Linked DNA regions of Homo sapiens: region 1 is linked to region 2. Evidence: promoter capture Hi-C in 16 types of primary human blood cells and fetal thymus (Javierre and others, 2016). All regions are on one chromosome and are shown on one strand. The core of a region is centred on a gene start or on the middle of the fragment in contact, and the rest is flanking DNA. Distances in the headings are between cores, read along the strand shown. Region 1 overlaps HOXD3 (homeobox D3). Region 2 holds the start of HOXD13 (homeobox D13).

Evidence for each region. The method cuts DNA at HindIII sites, captures the fragments that hold promoters and counts their contacts. A CHiCAGO score of 5 or more calls a contact.
Region 1: a contact is called between a fragment that was not itself captured here and the fragment with the promoter of HOXD13 in region 2, in 1 of 17 cell types (naive B cells). The highest score is 5.8, in naive B cells.

Annotation. Positions count from the first base shown.
Region 1 is chr2:176,167,414-176,170,649 of GRCh38, reverse strand. HOXD3 (homeobox D3) reads right to left here. Exons shown (of 4, transcript NM_006898.5): 3 at 995-1,619. The coding sequence starts at 1,535. Among named protein-coding and RNA genes, the nearest start is that of HAGLROS, 9.1 kb to the left of the region's middle. RefSeq lists a silencer at 1-129. The HindIII fragment of the contact is 9,103 bases long and covers 1-3,236 here.
Region 2 is chr2:176,091,303-176,094,344 of GRCh38, reverse strand. It overlaps HOXD13 (homeobox D13), which reads right to left and starts at 1,624. Exons shown (of 2, transcript NM_000523.4): 1 at 674-1,624. The coding sequence starts at 1,454. The HindIII fragment of the contact is 2,791 bases long and covers 298-3,042 here.

The DNA.
Region 1 (3,236 bases), core at 382-2,881, 76 kb before region 2:
CCAGAAAACATCAGGCAAACCAGATCCCTGATAGCAAGCCACACCCCAGGCCCCAAACTTGCCCTGGACCTGGAAGCAAGTTCATCTACCTGAAGATAAACCACATCAGATACCACAAGGTCAGAAAATTTCAGGAACCAAGCAGTCTAAGCAGAGAGAAGGAACAGCCCTCAGAGTTCCTGGCCATGCCTATCTTCTACATGCCCTGGGTGGACCTAGAGAAGGCCCCAACTGGAGGGGCTCCCCTTCCAGTTAGAGAAATCCAAGGCTGTTACTGTCTCCCAGAATATCCTCTCCTACTAGGACAGGCACCTCCCCATTATGGATTTGCTGGAGTGGGAGAATTGGGCTGAGGTGGGCCAAATAGAGACTCATGGTTATGCTTAGCAGCCCCTAAAGCCAGACTGACTGGATTCAAATCCACCACTTTGCAGTTTCAGAATCTTGGGCAAGTTGCCTATCCTCTCTAACAGTTTTCTTATCTGTAAAATGGGGATGTTATCATATACCTACCTCAAAAGGTTCTTTGAAAAATTAAATTAGATAATGCTTAGAAAGTACTTAGTATGGTACTTTCTAAGACTTTAGTTTTTATGAGTTTAAGGGAATGAGATTCGTGTGATATGGGCTATATAATCACCTAGGCTTGGGGATTGTAATACCTATCTTCAAATCTTGAAGAGCTGTTGGGTGGAAGAGGGAATGGAGTTATAATTAGCAGCCCAGGAAAACAGATATGCCCATATAAGGAAGCACTCTCTATTAATAGCTATAAGACCTGTCCAGCAACAGCACCAGCAGCCTGGAATGGAAGGGAGCACCCTGTCACTGCAAGGTCATGACCCCAATCAGGAACACTAAAAAAAAGAACATTTTGACGTGAGTAGGAGTTTAGACATATGACCTCCAAGGTTGCATTTCCAGCCCTGACTAGGCTTCCTTGGGTCAATCTGGAGGGGGCTTGGTCTGGCAGTAGGCCACCTCAGGGAGCTACCTGCAGTGGCACAGCTGTTCTTCTGCTTGGAGTTCTGTCGAGACTCTTTCATCCAGGGGAAGATCTGCTTGCTGATGGTGGCTGAGGAGCTAGAAGCATTGGGCCCACCTTTGGGCTTCTTGGCAGGCACTCCACCTCCAGGATTGGTGGGTGAAGATGGGGGCAGGGTCGGTGGTGGAGGAGGGGGTTGTGGTGGCTGCTGCTCTGAGTTCAGACCAGGAGGCTGGCTGCCACCACCCCCACCCTGGCTGTTCCCAGTGCCCGGCCGCATGCAGCTGCCATTGAGTTCAGCTCCTTTGTGGGCTGGGGCTCTCAGAGGGGCAGAGCTCTGGATGGAGCAGGCAGAACCTGGATAGTCAGTGTCCAGGGAGCTGGCAGCAGCAGGGGGTGGGTAGGGCTGGTGGGGGGTGCTGTAGCCGTAAGTGTCCGTAGTTTTGCTGTAGCCATAGCCTCCAAACAGTCCTGGGTTTTCATAGTAAGCAGCCTTCTGCATTGTGCACTCAGGAAGCTCCAGGGCCTGCTGACCCTGCTCAAATAACATTGACTACCACTGTATCCTTCACTGCCACCTCCAATGTCTGCTGAATCCTGAGAGAGCTGGGCCGGCCCCCAGGCTCCAGGTGACCTGTCAGAAGAAAAGCAAGAGGCCCCAGAGGGAGTGTCATTGGCAAGACCAGTCAATATAGAAGGACTAGCCCATGCTCTCTGCTTCCTACCCACTTCACGGCGGGGAGATGGGCAAGGTGCTGGATCTGAGTTTATTTACTTATCTATTTATTTATTAATACAGTGTCTTGCTTGTTGCCCAGGCTGGAGTGCAGTGGCATGAACATGGCTCACTGCAGCCTCAATTTACTGGGCTCAAGCGATCCTCCCACTTTAGCCTGGTATTAATAGCTATTTCAGAGTATTTCAAAGTCCCAGCTATTCTGCAGTATTAATAGCTATTTCAGAGTATTTCAAAGTCCCAGCTATTCTGCAGTATTAATAGCTATTTCAGAGTATTTCAGAGTCCCAGCTACTCTGCAGTAGCTACAGGTGCCCACCATGCCTGGCTACATGTCTTAGTGTTTTGTTTTGTTTTGTTTTAGATGGAATTTTGCTCCTGTTGCCAAGGCTGGAGTGCAGTGTCATGATCTCAGCTTACTGCAACCTACGCCTCTGGGTTCAAGCAATTCTCCTGCCTCAGCCTCCTGAGTAGCTGGGATTACAGGCACCTGCCACCACACCTGGCTAATTTTTTATATTTTTAGTAGAGACAGGGTTTCACCATGTTGGTCAGGTTGGTCTTGAACTCCTGACCTCAGGTGATCAACCCGCCTGGGCCTCCCTAAGTGCTGGGATTACAGGTGTGAGCCACTGCGCCAGCTCTTAGTTTTTTTTTTTTTTTTTTTGTAGAGACAGGGTCTTACAATGTTGCCCAGGCTGGTCTTGAGTTCCTGGGCTCTTGTGATCCTCCCGTCTTGGCCTCCCAAAGTGCTGGAATTACAGGCATGAGCCACTGCGCCTGGCAGATTTTATGAAGTTCAACTTATTTGAACCTCTGGAAGTATCAGAAGGAATTTTTCCTAAATGTAAGAAGAGTTTCCTTCTTTTTAGCTCAACTGTAGCTGAGGGAAAGGGCTTCCCTCTACCTCCAGATACAATTTACTTTCTTCAAGATTGTCCATTTAGCCTTTCTTCTGTGTGGAAAAGTACTTATAGCCTCAGACATTTTGTTGGCTGATTCGCCCACTAAACTGTAAGCTCCTTGCAGGCAGGGGCTGTGTCATTTGTCTACTGTTCCTAACATCCAGCACAGTGCCCTGCATGTAGTTAGTGCAATAAATGCTTGTTGAATAGGTGAATTAATAAGTGGATCAATCAGTCAATCATTGGGTCAGCACAAGGTTTTGATGGGAAATGAAAGTCCTATAACATGCTCAGAACAGCCAGAACTTAAAAAAAAAAAAAAAAAAAAAAAAAAAAAGGGTCTCCCCCCACCTGGTTTCAAAATCACAGCATCTTGCATGAAAGTCCAGATAGTCCACTTAACGATGACAGGGTGAAAATCAGCTGAGTAAGCTCTATGAATCAGCAGTGTAAAATCTACAATGTAGAAAACTAGGGGATAAACACCAACAGGAGGACTTGCAGACTTCCAGACTCATTTTGAGGCTAGAAAATGTTTCTTCTCTTTCATTTACATTTTTCTAGACCTTTTACTTTTGACCTCCCCTACTTTTAAACAGATACCACTGGA
Region 2 (3,042 bases), core at 375-2,874:
GTTTGGTCTTTATTATGTACATAGACATAACACTTACCTGTTATTAAAGAAGGATTATTTGCACTTAACAACAATGGTTAATTTGATTGATTATCATAGTTTCTCAAACCGGCATCTTAACAAGCTTGCAATTTTATGGTGTGGTTATTGGGCACGTTCATGAGGACAGTTTCTGCAAATGTCGGTTGTATAAAAACAAACTTACATACATAGACACATACCAACTCAGGTCTTTTGCTCAAATTTTGATTTCCCGCGTTCCTATGTTAGGAGTTCGTGAGCTTGATCTAACAAGCTTTAGTAGTCATCTTGGGGCAGTGATGTCTTTGAAAATGGGGGGACCCAACTCTGTCAGGTTTCTTAGGAAAAAGTTCTCTTTAGGAGAAAAGGGAGAGGCCCAAGGAAAGGGCACGCAGAGACTCTCAACTTTAGGAGAAAAACGTGTCTGCGCTGCACACAGGAAAGAAAGGGCAGTGACGGAGGCAGTTGAAATCAGAGGAGGAATTTACAGATTTCACACGAACTGGACAAATTTCCACTGGGTTAACCCTGGTCACGTGTGGAGCACAGGCACAACTCCCACTCCCAAGTAGGGGCGCATACTCTTAGTCCTTTCTTTTCTCCTTCTCTCTCCCCCTCCCTCGTGTCGGTCCCTTTTCTCCATCGCCCCTACCTGGAAAGGAAGATTTCCAAAAGTGGGACCCCTGTGGCTGGTCCTTGGTGCAGTACACCTGGCTGTTCCACCCGTTAGCCAGCGTCCAGGACTGGTACCCCTCCATGGAGATGTAGGCCTCGTGCCGAGGCTCCCCGGAGCCGAAAGTGGACACCATGTCGATATAGCCGGGCACGTGCTGGTAAGGGCTCGTATAGCCCTGGTAGAAGGATACCTCCTTGGCTCGCGCTGGCACCTCGTTGGCCGGTACGCTGCTGCTCGCCAGGCCTGACACGTCCATGTACTTCTCCACGGGAAAGCCTCCCAGCGAGGCGTGCGGCGATGACTTGAGCGCATTCTGCTGTAAGCCCACGCCGTGCGACATACGGCAGCTGTAGTAGCCGTTGCCGAAGTGGTAGCCGTAGCCCAGCGCTGGAGCGCTCGGGGGCGCTGCAGCGGCCGCTGCAGGCGTGGGTGCTGGGCACTCTTTGGCTGGGGGAGCCTCCGGGCGCGCCGCTACAACGGCAGAAGAGGACGACGACGAGGAAGAGCCCGTGCGCTCAGAGGTCCCGGGGTACGCAAAGCCGGAGGCTGCCGCCGCCGCCGCCGCAGCCGCCGCTGCCGCCGCCGCCGCCCGCCCCGAATGCGTCCCGGCGAACACAGGCGCGGAGAGAAAGCCGCGGCACTGGCCTGACGCCGCCGCCGCCGCCACCGATGAGGAGGAGGAAGAGGCCGGGGCGCCACCGGCGCCCCCGCCGTCTGCCCGCAGCCCGTCCATGTCCCAGCTCCCGGCGCGGCTCATGGCCCGGCCTGGCCCGGCCCCGGCCCTGGCCCTGGCCCCGCGCAGGACACCATGGCGCGGCGCGCCTCCTCCCTCCTCTCCTTTCTCTCTGGTTCGCTCGCTCCCGCCCTCTTCCTCTAGCCCTCTCTCCCTCTGTGAGCCTCCCGCCTCCGGCCCGCCTGCCCTCCAACAGGTTAGCTCATCGCGGGACGTTTATAAAAACGAAGTTCAGGTTGGGAGGGGGCCTGGGCCGGTCGGGGGGCCGCCTCCCGCCCCGAGGGCCCCCGCCGGGGGCGTGCCATTGGCTGCGCGCGGCCACGTGGGGGTAGGAACGCGGGGGAGCCTGGCTCCCGGCCCAGGCCTGGCTGGACCCACCCACTCCGGCCCCCACCCCTCTCCTGCCCCTTGCAGGGTCCACCTCCCATTCCCGCCCTCCCCCCCGACCCAGGCGTACGCGCTGCAGCCACCCCCACGAGTTGATTGCGCGACGGCCCATCCCAGGCCCTGTCTGCGACTGAGGCGGGCGCCAAGGCCTGCGCCTTGTCTCGGCAACCGCTGTTTTTGCCACCTCTCCTCGGCTCCCCGAGTTGCACAGCAAAATGAAGACGAAGGACAGAGATGATCAGAATGATGTGAAAACAGGCCCATTTTTTTATCCTGTTGCTGAATCCCTCAGTTAGTCGACTTCTAGACCCCAAATCCGAGTGAGCTAATTTGCCCTACCTTGTGCACTGGTACCCGGCAAAGGCATTTCACACAGGTAAGAGGCATTGGAGCAGACCCTTCCTATACACACACGCTGTCCGTTCGGAAAATGCCCATGAAGCGCCCTTGGGGCTGGCGGCAGAGACTTAAACAGATGAAAGACAGGCATCGGCGCAGTGAGCCTGACAATCTGTCCCAGAAAGAAAAGTCCATGGATGCCTACTCAACGCTCTTCGCCTCTACTCTTGGGCCAGCCGGGAGTGCTTCCGACCTGGGCCTCTCAGCTCCCGCGGGTCCTTCTTCGACCCGCAGAAAGACCCTGAGAACGGCGCCGGGGGAGAAAGCCACTCAGCCTCCCACCGTGAAACTTCTGTGTCTCTCCAGCAGCCGACCGGCCTCGCATTTTGCAGTCACCACCCACTCCCGCCCGTTTCTCACACCAAATTAATTGAAAACTTCACTTTCCCAGGGACCTTTGTTTCGCTTCCTTTTCCAAGCTGTCAACTGCAGAGAACTGAGAGGGGCAAATTAAGAGGGCGCTTGTTCCAAGCAAATTCGGATTTTGTGATAGGAGCAGCCCAGAGAAACGGTCTGACTTCAAGGGGTTAGGTGGGCTCAGGGCAGTGCTGGTGGGGCTAGGTCCAGCTCTGGAACCAAGCTGCCAGGGTGTTAGGGATTACAGCCCTGTCCCTCATCATCCCTTTCTGTTGCTCCTCAGCCTCAGAGCTCCAGCCCACCATCCCTCAATCTCAGCAACTAATGGGGCACCAATGAGAGTCCTGCTGTGACTTTGGGGCTCTGCCTTAGGAACAATATTAGATCCAATGAGCCCAGGGTTCTGGGGGTGGATATGGGATCCTTCAGAGCCCATTTGGTTCTGTGGCATGCACTCCCCAAGCCAGCC